Regions from separate parts of the Homo sapiens genome. Here regions 1, 2, 3 and 5 are each linked to region 4. The links are contacts of gene promoters, found by promoter capture Hi-C in blood cells and fetal thymus (Javierre and others, 2016). All regions are on one chromosome and are shown on one strand. The core of a region is centred on a gene start or on the middle of the fragment in contact, and the rest is flanking DNA. Distances in the headings are between cores, read along the strand shown. Region 1 has its middle 6.4 kb from the start of KLF4. Region 2 has its middle 9.3 kb from the start of LINC01509. Region 3 overlaps LOC124902241 (a long non-coding RNA gene). Region 4 holds the start of ELP1 (elongator acetyltransferase complex subunit 1). Region 5 overlaps RAD23B (RAD23 nucleotide excision repair protein B).

Region 1 (2,700 bases), core at 38-2,537, 1.4 Mb after region 4:
TTGATTAACAAACACAATGTTTGTGAAAAAAAAGTCAACTACAGGGTAATAAAATGCATTCTTAATTTTTTTTTAAATCATTTCCCTGGCTCAAAGTACATAATTTCAAATTGGCAAAAATAAGCTCCCCTCTTGTCCAGCCCACAAACTGAAAGAGAATTAAACACAGAATTGTTTTTTTCTTGTTTGCATTTCTCAGGGTGTGAAGCATTCATTTTTGTACCTTCAACATTCCTACATTTTCCATAAAACAAAAATGTTACCTCCAATCCAATCTAAACCTAGGGACTTTGTTTTCCTCAGAAGAACGACGTTGTCTTAGTCTAAGAATCTGAGGCACTGAGGCTTTTAAATAAAGGAAGTAGACTCTTGGTTCTCTTTTCAGAGATAATTCTCCCCCAGGGGAAGCAGGCAAAACTTGGTGAACCAAGTGAAGAAGAAAATTCCAGCAACAGGTTTTTCTCTGCCCACTGACTTCTTTGCTGGTTCATTTAAGTACTTTTATTCTTTCATTAAAATTTAAATACTTTTAAAATTTGCTAGTTCATTTACTTTTAAATGTGTTTCAAATGCATATAGTATTGGAGTCATGCTCTACGAAGATGGTAAATGCTAGCCTGCAATTTCTTTTATTAAGGAAAATATTACTGAGATGCCCCTCACTCTTACAAAATGTTTTGTTAAGGGAAATACTACTGAGATGTACCTCACTCTTACAAAATATTTCTTTTTTTATTTTTGAGGCGGAGTCTTGCTCTGTTGCCCAGGCTGGAGTGCAGTGGTGCGATCTTGGCTCACTGCAACCTCCGTCTCCTGGGTTCAAGCTGTTCTCTTGACTCAGCTTCCCAAGTAACTGGGACTACAGGCATGCGCCACCACGCCCAGCTAATTTTTGTATTTTTTAGTAGAGATGGGGTTTCGCTATATGTTGGCCAGTCTGGTCTTGAACTCCTGACCTTGTGATTCACCCACCTCGGTCTCCCAAAGTGTTGAGATTACAGGTGTGAGCCATTAAAAAATATTTCTCTCTGCTTAAACAGACATTTAAAAATAAGCAACCTGGCCGGGTGTGGTGACTCATTTATTTATTAAAAAATAAATAAATACATAAATAAATAAAGTAAAAAAAATCAGCAACCTAAAAAGAGGGATTTTTTTTGTATCCTTTTTAATATCTCAGAACAAGTTGAGGACACTGAAAAGCTGAATTTAATATATTGCAGTCAGAATATTTCAAAAGTCTTGAAAATAATTTCATTAATTTTAGATTTTATTTTTAAATAGCTTAAAGGATGTATTGGGCCTAAGTTTTTTGAGCTAAGAATGTAACTTAAGTGATCAAACCTAAGGGTTCACGAAAAAGATTCTAATGAAATTTCTGAGAATTGATTTTTAAATGTCTGTGATTCATTTTCTGCTCTAAAAACTTCAACCCTTAAGGTTTGGGTTTTGAAAGGCAATGAATTTGGCTGCAGAAAAGAGTGGACTCTTTCTCCATTTGGTTTTGGTTTGGATTTTGGTTATTTTTGTTTGTGTTTTCAAGTTTGTTTTATTACAATGCCTTGGCCAGCACTGTTCTATTACTTTGTCCAACTGTTTTTGAGAGTACAGAGTTATGAAGGATTTTATTTCCTTCATAACTTTCTTTGAAAAGTTTTCCTTCATAGAACTTTTCAAAGAAAGAGATGAAGTGGTGAAGAAAGAGAAGGGATGGAAAATGAAGTACCAAACCAATGACCCTCTCAACTAGAGAGAAATGCTATTGACAAGGACCAGGTCCCCTGACTCCCTCCCTGCCTCTACCCCATTAATAGTTTACCAAGTCAGTTTTGCTCTCTTCATTCATTCTACAATTAATGGTCATTGGGCATTTGTCCTGAAGATGCCATAGGGGAACAGGAGCTACAAACAACCAGATCATGCAAGTCCACTGGGTAAACATCCTAGCAGTCATTACACAGCTTTGTTAGAGCTCAGAGAAAAAAGGACTGGCTTAAAAGGGAACTCATAGACCAAGGAACAATTAAGAGGGACTTTTTGGAGTTTGGGTACGATGAGGGCCCTGAGGGGAGAAAGGGCATTTCAGACAGGAAAAACAGCTGATGAAAATACACATCCTGTATTCAGGGATTTGAGAGAACATCCAGTTAAGAGTTTAGAGAGGGTGAGGTCAGTCTCTAGAGAAGATTCTGGAAAGTTTGTCTAGGGCCAGAGTAGTAAGTGTTGGGTACATCAAGCCAAACAGTTTGGTTTTATTCCTCTAGGCAAAGTGGAGCTGTTGAAAGACTGGCTGGTGGGGAGGTGAGTAGAGACAGAACTGTGGTGGTCTGTTAGCAAAATGGATTAGATCTAGCTGGAGAATGCCAGTGGGGCTCTGAGGGAGGAGACAAGAGGACTATTTGGAGTGTACAGACATAATTAAATCTGTAAATGAGGCTGGGCACAGTGGCTTACGTGTGTAATCCCAGCACTTTGAGAGGTCGAGGTGGGTGGATGGCTTAAACACAGGAGTTTGAGACCAGCCTGGCCAACATGACGAAATCTCTATCAAAATAAAAAAAAAAAAAAAAGAATCAGTGCCACAAGATACTCGCTACTCGGGAGGCTAAGGTGGGAGGATCGCTTGAGCCCGGGCAGTGGAGGTTACAGTGAGCCAAGATAGTGCCATTGCACTCCAACCTGGGCAATAGAATGAGACCC
Region 2 (2,700 bases), core at 167-2,666, 1.5 Mb after region 4:
GACTCTGGAAAGAGTTTTGTTCATTTGAGGGGTTTGTTGTGTGTTGGGGAAGACAGATGGATGTCAGGTGACCTACAGGAAGCAATTAAGAGACCACTGGGCATGTCCTCCAGGATGCCAAAATTTGGGGAAAGGAGATTTTTTTTTTTTTGAGACAGAGTCTTGCTCAGTTGCCCAGGCTGGAGTGCAGTGGTGCCATCTCAGCTCACTGCAAGTTCCACCTCCCCGGTTCACGCCATTCTCCTGCCTCAGCCTCCCAAGTATCTGGGACTACAGGCACCTGCCACCATGCCTGGCTAATTTTTTTTGTATTTTTAGTAGAGACGGGGTTTCACCGTGTTAGCCTGGATGGTCTCGATTTCCTGACCTCGTGATCCACCTGCCTCAGCCTCCCAAAGTGCTGGGATTACAGGCATGAGCCACTGCACCCAGCAGGGAAAGGAGATATTTTATCCTTTTTTTGGATGACCCATTGGGCCTCCTTTCAAGAAAAAAGGTATGTGTACCATGGACATATGACAAATAATGAAGGCTAAAAAAAAAAAGAAAAAAATTGCACTTTAAAAGCTTAGGCCAGGCACGGTGGCTCACGCCTGTAATCCCAGCACTTTGGGAGGCCGAGGCAGGTGAATCACTTGAGGTCAGGAGTTCAAGACCAGGCTGACCAACATGGTGAAACCCCATCTCTACTAAAAATACAAAAATCACCTGGGCGTGGTGGTGGGCACCTGTAATCCCAGCTACTCAGGAGGCTGAGTCAGGAGACTCGCTTGAAACCGGGAGGCGGAGGTTGCAGTGAGCCAAGATCGTGCCACTGCACTGCAGCCTGGGCAACAGAGCGAGACTCCATCTCAAAAAAATAATAATAAAATAAAATAAAAGCTAAAAGAGGGTACTTTCCTGACCTCATGATCCACCCGCCTCGGCCTCCCAAAGTGCTGCGATTATAGGCGTGAGCCACCATACCAGCTAAAAGAGGGTACTTTCTACTCTAGGATATTGAGTGGGCCAGTCTGCCCAAACAGGAAGGTTTAGCTTTGGGTGCTGTGAAACCCTCCCATTTGGTTTGCTCCAATTCAAGCTTGAGACTCTTCTAGTTTGCCTGGATGACAGTAGTTTTCTGACCTCTGAATACATCTAAATAAACTCACTCTGACAGTGCGCGGAATTGACCATTGCCCTGCCTTTGAGGCACTGTTACCGCCTCACCTAGGAATGGGTAACATTGCAAGGACTGAAGCTGTAAAATTACGTAGGTAGCTCACAACTATAATGCCAATACTTTGGGAGGCAGAGGTGGGAGGATCACTTGAAACCAGGAGTTCAAAACCATCCTGGTCAATATAGGGAGACTCTGTCTCTCCAAAAAATAAAAAATAAAATAAAAAAATAACAAAATTAGCCAGGAGTGGTGGCATGTTCCTGTGGTTCTGGCTCCTCAAGAGGCTGAGGTGGGAAGATCCCTTGAGCCCAGGAGGCTGAGGCTGCAGTGAGCTATGATTGTTTTACTGCACTCCAACCTGGGTGACAGAGCAAGACCCTGTCTCAAAAATAAAATAAAATTACGTAAGACGTTTGAAAAGGAAAGCATCTTCAAGACCATTTAACTCAAGGAAAAGACCCAGATAAAGGACTTGTGACCTTGCCCAAGGTCACATCAAGTTGACATCTGAGGAACCAGCACCTAGATCTGATTTACTTAACAGGCCAATCATCCATGGCTTCATCCTAACAGCCCAAGGGAAGCTTAGAGGAATCAAGATGATCAAAAACATCTTGCTGGCTGGGTGTGGTGGCTCATGCCTGTAAGCCCAACACTTTGGGAGGCCAAGGTGGGTGGATCACTTCAGATCAGGAGTTCCAGACCGGCGTGGCCAACATGGCGAAGCCCTATCTCTATTGAAAATACAAAAATTAGCCGGGCATGGTGTCGTGCACCAGTAATCCCAGCTACTTAGGAGGCTGAGGCAAGATAATTGCTTGAACCTGGGAGGCAGAGGTTGCAGTGAGCTGAGATCATGCCACTGCACTCCAGCCTGGGTGACAGAGTGAGACTGTCTCAAAAACAAAACAAAACCAACCAACCAACCAAACAAAAAACACCATGCTCACCTCGGCAGCACATATCCTAAAATTGGAAAAATACAGAGATTAGCATGGCCCCTGCGCAAGGATGACATGCAAATTCGTGAAGTGTTCCATATTTTTCTGTTCTTGCACAGGCTCTTAAGCAACATGGAAATAAGGTTGATGGAAAATAAACATCAGTTTCTAAACAAACAAACAAAGAAACAACAACAAAACAAAAAACACCATGCAGAAAAGATGGCTTTCAGAGGAAAGTTCTGTTTTTTTGTTTTTTTTCCTTTTTTTGAGATGGGGGATGAGGTCTCACCCTGTCACCCAGGCTGAGTGGTGCAATCACAGCACACTGCAGCCTCAACCGCCTGGGCTCAAGAGATTCTCCCTCTCAGCCCCCCAAGTAGCTGAGACCACAGACATGCACCACCATACCTGGCTAATTTTTTTAAAAAATTATTTTGTAGAGACAAGGGTATCCCTATGTTGCCCAGGCTGGTCTCTAACTCCTGGGCTTAAGGGCCTCGACCTCTCAAAGTGCTAGGATTACAGGCATGAGCCACAGTGCCTGGCCCTGGAAAGTTCTAAATTCAATGTAATGTTGTGCTCTAACATCCAAAA
Region 3 (2,700 bases), core at 175-2,674, 1.6 Mb after region 4:
AATTCCATGAACAAACTATAGCCAAGCCCAGGGTGGGAAAAGAAGCCACGAGGAGCCCCACTATAAGGGAAAACGTGGTAAATGAGCAATGACAACATGGCGGGCTAAATACATGGACATACTTGCATTAAGCAGTGACTAGTGTGCCAGATAACAGTTGCTGTCATACCTGGTAAAGTCTTGCTCATCAGATTATTGAAGGATGATTATAAACATCTCCATTTTCTAGATGAGAAAACTGGGCTTACAGACATACAACAACAATATCAGAGCCATGGCCAGAATCCATATCACTCTGCTGTAGAAATTTTGAAAACATATGACATGAATTTATTGGTTAAGGAAAAAAAAAAGCTGGGCACGGTGGCTCACACCTATAATCCCAGCACTTTGGGAGGCCGAGGTGGGAGGATCACCTGAGGTCGAGAGTTTGAGACCAGCCTGACCAACATGGAGAAACCCCATCTCTACTAAAAATACAAAATTAGCAGGGCGTGGTGGCACATGCCTGTAATCCCAGCTACTCAGGAAGGCAGAGGCAGGAGAATCACTTGAACCTGGGAGGCGGAGGCTGTGGTGAGCTGAGATCACGCCATTGCACTCCAGCCTGGGAAACAAAAGCGAAACACCCTCTCAAAAAAAAAAAAAAAGAAAGAAAGAAAGAAAAAAAGAAAAGAAAAACAAACGTTTTGAAAATAAAAGCCATTCACTTGTAATTTTTTTTTTCATTGTGGTAGGGAAGCACCAGGGAAGGCTTTATGGAGGTGATTATTAATCTGAGGCTTGAAACTCCTTGTCACTGATTCATTTATTCAACCAAAATGTATTGAGCACCTACTAGGTGCCAGGTAGTAAGGACATCCAGAAGAAAAACATACAGGCCTGCCCTCCAGGAGTTCACACTGTCATGATGGAAAAAAAAAAAGAAAAAAATCAGACAGAGGCAATGCTTTGCGTCGAGGGCAAGTATTGACAGCAGAGTCCATGGGAGACTCCTGATCCAGTGGGGGCGTGAGGGATGTCACAGGAGACCCCCGGTCCAGTGTCAGGTGGTGAAGGTGTTCATGAGAGTCCCTTGGTCCAGTGAGAGGGTCATGGGAGGCCCCTGATCCAGTGGCACCCAGTGGCAAAGCCTGGGGAAGAAGGAATATCTGGGATGAGGAATAAGGGCTGAGTCTAGAAGGCTGAATGGGAATAGAAGGGGAAGAAGTATCCAGAGAGACCCTAGAGGGATATATGGAAAGGTCTGGAGGCCAGCCATCTTTCCCTGGGCCCTGAAACAGGCTAATAGCCATTTGTATGTGTGTGAGTTCCAAGCTAACTGAGAAATCTATGAGGCCTAAGCCAGCTTTTCTGGGGTTATTGCAAATCCATCATTGCTCAAAGTTGCATTGTGTAGCTTGAGATTACGAGCTTTGTAAAGTCCCATAGAAAGGGATACAAGAGGCCGAAAGGCATTCCAGGCCACAAGAAAGAATAGCCTTTTGGAAAGATTCTTGGTTCACTTTTTCCCCAGACACCTCCCCTGCCCAGGGGCTGCAGGGACCTCTGGCTTAAGAATGGCCATTGCTCCAGCTGGAAGATAGCACCTGGACTGGCTCAGGGCTAGACAGAGGAGACGGGGAGCTTCAGGTGGTATCACAGGCCAGATAGGGGATCCTGCCATGACCTATGGATGCCTCACAGAGCACTTGTCTTTGTTTGGATGGCTTTTGAAGGTGATTATTATTTTGAAGGATTGATTATTCTAAAGGGACAGACTTCCCTATCCCTACTCCGCTGCATTTACGGCAAAATAAACTTGAAAAAGAAAAAACCCACTCATCTGACTCCAGATCCTATCAGTTTTCCCTGTGCCTCTTCCTCCAGCCATGGCTTAGAAGGGTAAAAGTTCAAGCTATCTCAGATATCTGAAGAAAAGCCCACTGTCCCCCCAACCCTAATATTTGTATAGACAAAAAAAAAAAAATTGGTCTAAATGGGCTCAGAGAAGGCCTGGAGCCAAGTGAGTCCCCAACCTCCCTGGGCTATGTTCTAGTTATGAGAATCTGGGCACATAGCTCACCCTCTCTAAACCTCAGTTTCCTCCTCTGCATGGCATTTGTGTGTGTGTGTGTGTGTGTGTGTGTGTGTGTGTGTGTGTTGCCCAGGCTGGAGTGCAATGGCGTGACCTCGGCTCACCGCAACTTCCGCCTCCAGGGTTCAAGTGATTCTCCTACCTCAGTCTCCCGAGTAGCTGGGATTACAGGCACGAGCCACCATACCCAGCTAATTTTGTATTTTTAGTAGAGACGGGTTTTCTCCATGTTGGTCAGGCTGGTCTCAAACTCCTGACCTCAGGTGATCCGCCCACCTCGGCCTCTCAAAGTGCTGGGATTACAGGCGTGAGCCACCAGGCCCGGGCCTGACACTTCTTAGAATGGCCTGAGTCAATGCAGATAGAGCTCTTGGTACCTGAAGTTATAGGGGTTTAGTTCTCTTCCTCTTTCCCCTGTAGTTTCGGCAATAGAGGCAAGTATGAGCTGGGTCTCTAGACCAGCGTCTTCCCTTCCTCCAGCGACCCGATTTCCCACAGCTTTTCAGCGACCCACGGATGCTGGGTCTTTCCCACTTTGTGCTCCTCCCCTGAAACTACACGGCTCTCCCTCACCACAAGGGGGCGTGCCGGCGCATGGCAGACAGCACTTGCCCTCCAGGTGT
Region 4 (2,700 bases), core at 18-2,517:
TACACTCACTTCAAAATGAGTACACGTAGTATTTTTGCTAGGAAAATGCAATTAGCATCCCGTTCTTTATGATATATATTTTTTGTTGGTGGTTTCCAGGACTGTCCTGATGTTGGTGCAAGTCCGACATTCTGGGAAACCCCTCAGTCATGGGTGAACTAGGACAGGTTGGTCACCCTATGTTTGGCCAACAGAAAATATGCTACAATATATATTTTTTAAACTGAGTATAACCATTATCACTGAATGAAAGGAAGAAAGGAGAGTCCCCAACGATGCTCCCACCACTGGTTCTGCTTACACAAAACAGTACAAAAAGAATACCTACTTCTAAGTGGCAGATGGCGTCTCTTAAGGTAAATGTATAGATTCTTCTTCTTTCTAAATGTCTCTAATCTAACCCACCCTCTTCTCGCCATCCCTACTGCCTCTACCTTAGTTTCGATCTGATCATTTAAATAATTTTATGTATCGCTACTCCCTGTGAGAGTGAGCCCCTCAATCCCTCCAGGCACTTAAGGACTGTTGCAACCTAGCCCTCCGCCTACCTTTGGGGCCTCCGTTTAGAGTACTCATCTTACTGCGAGCAACACCCTAGAGCTCGCACTGCAATCGCCGGCCCCAGAATGCGCCCTGAAGTATTTCAGGCCACCAGGTCTTTGCAAATGCCATTCCCTGGGGCTAGACGGAACACAGAAGTCCAGTGCCTTCTGACGTGGGGACGGAGAGCCAGGGAGAGCGCGCGTGGCTTATGATCTGTCAACATAGTCTACACAGCATTAGGCCAGTGCGGCCAAGGAGGGATCAACATCACTCCGCACTTACCCGGTTTGTACCAGCGAGTGAAGTATCGATCCACGAGCGAAGGCACCACCGGCTCCGCGGCTTCGGGCTCGGTAGCCATGGCGACCTCCGGCGCCGCCACCCCCGCCCTCCGGGACCCCAGCGCTTCCTCCGCGCAGCCCGGACTGGGCGTGCTCTTCCGGCGCACAGCGCGTGTCGTGCGCACGCGCGCTGCTCTCAGGTCCGCAGGTTCCACCCCCCCCCCCGCCCCCCCCAATTACAGTGCTTTGGGGTTCGACATCAAAACAGAGATCAAATACAAAAGTTTGGGCAGATGGGCAAGAGGGCAGAGGGACAGGGGACGCGGCCAATGTAGCTCCTCTACCTCTACGGTGCCAGGCCTACAAAGAAGGCCGGCCGCCGTAAGTGACCAGAAGCGGGCCCGGCCTCGCCCCCTCCGCCTGGTGACGTCACTCCCGCGCCGCACTCCCAGTGCTGCGGCTGCCTAGTTGACGCACCCATTGAGTCGCTGGCTTCTTTGCAGCGCTTCAGCGTTTTCCCCTGGAGGGCGCCTCCATCCTTGGAGGCCTAGTGCCGTCGGAGAGAGAGCGGGAGCCGCGGACAGAGACGCGTGCGCAATTCGGAGCCGACTCTGGGTGCGGACTGTGGGAGCTGACTCTGGGTAGCCGGCTGCGCGTGGCTGGGGAGGCGAGGCCGGACGCACCTCTGTTTGGGGGTCCTCAGGTAAGCGATCCATCCAGGGTAGGGGCACGGGAGTGGACCTCTCCGCCGGCGGTGTCCGGGTGAAGGAGACCCGGAGCCTCCTCTGCCTGCTGCGGGCCGGGGACTGGAGTGCGGGCTGCACCACCTCTTTCCTAGAGCCTTAAATTCTTTTTGCAGCCTTGCCACCTGCTCCATCGGGGGCGCTGGGAGGCGCGACAGCCCAGGGATGCCTGCTGCCCCTCCAGCCGGACTTAACCCAGCCTCTTGATTGCTTGCAGGGGGTTGATAATAACGCTGAAAGCGAGAGTATTAATTCACGATGGAAGGCGGCGGTTAATAGAGGCTCGGGTGCTGTGGTGCGGGTCCTTTCTCGCGTGTGAGACTTTTTCGTGGAGGTGGTGTCCTCTGTGCTTCTCCATCTAACGTGGTGTTTTACGTGGCTTTCTCTCCCGTTAACGATGATCTCCGTGGAGACAGTGGCTGAGTAATCTTCAGATCCCAGTACTTAGCAAGTGCTCAGTCGGTGTTGGATGTAGGCCACAAACCGGATCGTAAAGAATTCAACTGTATATTGACAGCCACGGAACTAATCAATGAATAGATCCGTATGAAGAGTAAGCAAAAAGGCAGCAAAGACAGTTTTTCAGCTTGGGGACATAGAGTAGAAATGGTCTGTCCCCAAATAGTGGGAACTGTCATTTGGGGGAAGAATAGCAAGTTCTTTGCTTTCCAGGTCGCATTTGATGTGCATGTGAGACATGCTTGTGATTCTATCAGGAGGTTGAAAATGTGGGTTTAGTGGTAAGTTTGGGCTAATTCAGTCAGGGCTAGGCATTTAGGCCTAATCAGCGTATTGGTGATCTACCTGGTATATGTAATCATGCATGTGATGTCTAGCCAAGAGGTGGATAGTCGAAGGAGCAAGGGAAGAAAATGAAGCAGTTATCAGGAAATTAAGAGAGAATCCACGATTGACCTTTGGTGTGGAGGGATCTTTAGCACATTTAAGAACTGCGAAGAGTTTGAATCAGTGGAGGCAGGAAGGTTGGAGGTTGCAGATGTCCAAGAAAGAGTACTAATAGGCCTAGGTCCTGTGGCAATATGGAGGATATTCCTTTCCTAGCCTGGAAAGAAGTGGAGGGAAGTCTTCCTCCGAGAAGATAAGGGAATAAGGCTGATGGGTGTGAAATTTCA
Region 5 (2,700 bases), core at 63-2,562, 1.6 Mb after region 4:
ATGATGATCCACTTACACTTAATGAACACTAAAAATATTCTCTCTCGTGATTTTCTTTTGTTTCTTTTTGAGAGAGGTTCTCACTCTATCGCCCAGACTGGAGTGCAGTGGTATGATCACAGCTCACTGCAGCCTCAACCTCCCAAGGCTCCTGCCTCAGCCACTGCCCCCGCCCCCAACACCAGGTAGCTGGGACTACGGGCTCACACTACCACTCCCTGCTAAATTTTTGTATTTTTTTTTTTTGTAGAGACAAGGTTTCGCCATGTTACCCAGACAGGTCTCCAACACCTGAGCTCAAGCGATCCGCCCACCTTGGCCTCCCAAGGCGATGGGATTACAGGCATCAGCCACCACACCTGGCCATGATTTTCTTAATAGTTTCTCTAGCTTACTTTAATACAGTATATCATACATGTAACATATAAAACATGTATTAATCCACTGTTTACGTTATCAGTAAGGCTTCTGGTCAAGAGTAGGCTATTAGTAGGTAAGTTTTGGGCAAGTCAAAAGGTATATGCAGATTTCTGACTGTAGGGGAGAGGCCAGCACTCCTAAGCTCAGTGGTGTTCAAGGGTCAACTGTACATGTGTAAAAATCATACATGATTTTTAGTCTTCTCCTAAGGCCTCTCAATGCTCGCTACCTGTTTAGTTCATAACTTTCCCAAGGACAAAAGGTAGCTGTTTTAGTGGAAGACAAGGCTTAAATTCAACATAATTTGCCACAGGCATAAACAAACTCTAAAACCAATGAGCTGCCTTGTCTTTTTGATTTGAACTAATAAAGAAGACACTAGGAAAAAGGTTAGTGAAAGGTGATAGGTTTTTAAAAAATACTAGTAGCATTACTCCCTTCTTTTCCTATTTAGCTTAACTTTCTTAACAGCCAATATAATATTCTGCAGATTATTACTGTTCTAAAACTAAAATGAGCTGAAATCCTGAGATCATTCTGGATCTTCAGTTATTCTGGATAAACTGGAGCTTCACAAAGGTGAAAATTTAGAGTCTTAAGCACCAAAACTTTATAATAACCAATCTAGATAAAAATGTATTTTTAAAAGTGGTATACTCATTTAATATTTTCCTTAATTGTTATCAAAATAATATTGCAATGTAACTTCCCTTCAAGGTTCCTACTGCCAAGAACAGCTACTTATACTTTATTCTAAACAGTACCAAGCCCTTCTCTGCTTTTTAGTTTTTATTCTTGCTTTTGATCTTAATAGCTTTTTCCTTTCCCTTCTTTGTATTAATAAGGTCATTTCTCAGTGCTTCCATAATGCCTTACTGTAGCAGCATTCCCTCCCTTTTCATAGTTGTCCTCTATTAACTTCAAATAAAACAATCATAAATATCATTAGAATCCTATGTAATATTAGGAATAAAAGACTTTAAGGAAAAACAAAAGGACTGTATGCAATATAATGATAGGCTTCAAGTATCTATTCCTCAAACACACGCACCTATTGAGACTTTTTCTGCTTAATTCTTGTGTTCTAAACAGTCAGGATCACTGTAATATTAAAAGAAACTAAGACCAGTAACAAAACATATTTAAATGTGTGGCTATCACATTTCCCATTATGTACTATGTATGCTAAAACTAGATAGGAAAATAGGATAGTATTCAGTCTTAAAAGTTCAGCAAATTCTGGCACAAGCTATAACATAGACAGATGAACCTCAATGACATTATGCTAAGTGAAATAAGCCAGTCACAAAAAGACAAATACCATAGGATTCCACTTATATGATGGTGATAGCTGCAAAACAATGTAACTATAATGTTATTGAACTGTACACTTAAAATGATTAAACTGGAAGTTTGTTATATTTTACCACAGTTGAATAAAAAAACCTAGATGATACAAGGTTTCCTCACGATTCTGCTTGTTTTTAAACTTAACATATAATGACTTAAGTTCTTAAGTATAGCAAAATCAACATGGTTCTTAATGAATTAAAAAATGTTCAACACTTGTAAACTATTTAGCTGCTTGCTCCCAGTACAAAAGCATGTGGTAATTAGAATTTATTTCTTCGACTCTATTTTCTATTACTATTAACTATTTTGTGACTTTGAGAAAAAACCCACATTTAATCCACTTTTGGCCTTTGATGAAGTGGTTTCAATTAGTGATTTAAACTCATTTTCAGTGCTACAAGTAACACTGTTCTTTCTCAGATTATGACAATCCAATCCTAAAAATGAATGTCATGAGTACCACTTCTCCATTTGTCTCTTAATTCTACACTGCATTATATATCTTTAAATAAACAAGTATATAAATAGTCTCTTAAAAAAATCCATGTTCATTCTCTGCTTTAAAAAAAATTTAATTTTATAAATTGTTCCAAATACATTCCAGCCTACTAAATCACAAAAAAGTATCTGTTTAAAACTTCCAGGCTGGGCGCGGTGGCTCACGCCTGTAATCCCAGCACTTTGGGAGGCCGAGGCGGGCGGATCACGAGGTCAGGAAATCGAGACCATCCTGGCTAACACGGTGAAACCCTGTCTCTACTAAAAATACAAAAAAATTAGCCGGGCGTGGTGGCATGCGCCTGTAGTCCCAGCTACTAGGGAGGCTGAGGCAGGAGAATGGCATGAACCCGGGAGACAGAGCTTGTAGTGAGCCAAGACAGCGTCACTGCGCTCCAGCCTGGGCAACAGAGCGAGACTCCGTCTCAA

The links. The method cuts DNA at HindIII sites, captures the fragments that hold promoters and counts their contacts. A CHiCAGO score of 5 or more calls a contact.
Region 1: a contact is called between a fragment that was not itself captured here and the fragment with the promoter of ELP1 in region 4, in 2 of 17 cell types (total B cells and naive B cells). The highest score is 7.2, in total B cells.
Region 2: a fragment that was not itself captured here is called in contact with the fragment with the promoter of ELP1 in region 4 in 2 of 17 cell types (naive B cells and total B cells); the score reaches 14.4 in naive B cells.
Region 3: a contact is called between a fragment that was not itself captured here and the fragment with the promoter of ELP1 in region 4, in 2 of 17 cell types (non-activated CD4 T cells and monocytes). The highest score is 6.7, in non-activated CD4 T cells.
Region 5: a fragment that was not itself captured here is called in contact with the fragment with the promoter of ELP1 in region 4 in 1 of 17 cell types (naive CD8 T cells); the score reaches 6.4 in naive CD8 T cells.

The regions. Positions count from the first base shown.
Region 1 is chr9:107,494,836-107,497,535 of GRCh38, reverse strand. No RefSeq gene overlaps it. Among named protein-coding and RNA genes, the nearest start is that of KLF4, 6.4 kb to the right of the region's middle. The HindIII fragment of the contact is 2,924 bases long and covers 1-2,700 here.
Region 2 is chr9:107,474,544-107,477,243 of GRCh38, reverse strand. It overlaps the pseudogene RNU6-492P. Among named protein-coding and RNA genes, the nearest start is that of LINC01509, 9.3 kb to the right of the region's middle. The HindIII fragment of the contact is 665 bases long and covers 1,084-1,748 here.
Region 3 is chr9:107,341,316-107,344,015 of GRCh38, reverse strand. It overlaps LOC124902241 (a long non-coding RNA gene), which reads right to left. Exons shown (of 2, transcript XR_007061717.1): 2 at 791-1,133. Among named protein-coding and RNA genes, the nearest start is that of RAD23B, 59 kb to the right of the region's middle. RefSeq lists an enhancer at 2,594-2,700. The HindIII fragment of the contact is 4,219 bases long and covers 1-2,700 here.
Region 4 is chr9:108,932,691-108,935,390 of GRCh38, reverse strand. It overlaps ELP1 (elongator acetyltransferase complex subunit 1), which reads left to right and starts at 1,267. Exons shown (of 37, transcript NM_003640.5): 1 at 1,267-1,527. ABITRAM (actin binding transcription modulator) reads right to left here and starts at 991. Exons shown (of 6, transcript NM_017832.4): 1 at 826-991. The coding sequence starts at 904. RefSeq lists a silencer at 765-1,044 and an enhancer at 1,795-2,024. The HindIII fragment of the contact is 11,674 bases long and covers 1-2,700 here.
Region 5 is chr9:107,302,672-107,305,371 of GRCh38, reverse strand. All of the region lies in intron 3 of RAD23B (RAD23 nucleotide excision repair protein B), which reads right to left. Among named protein-coding and RNA genes, the nearest start is that of RAD23B, 21 kb to the right of the region's middle. The HindIII fragment of the contact is 3,049 bases long and covers 1-2,700 here.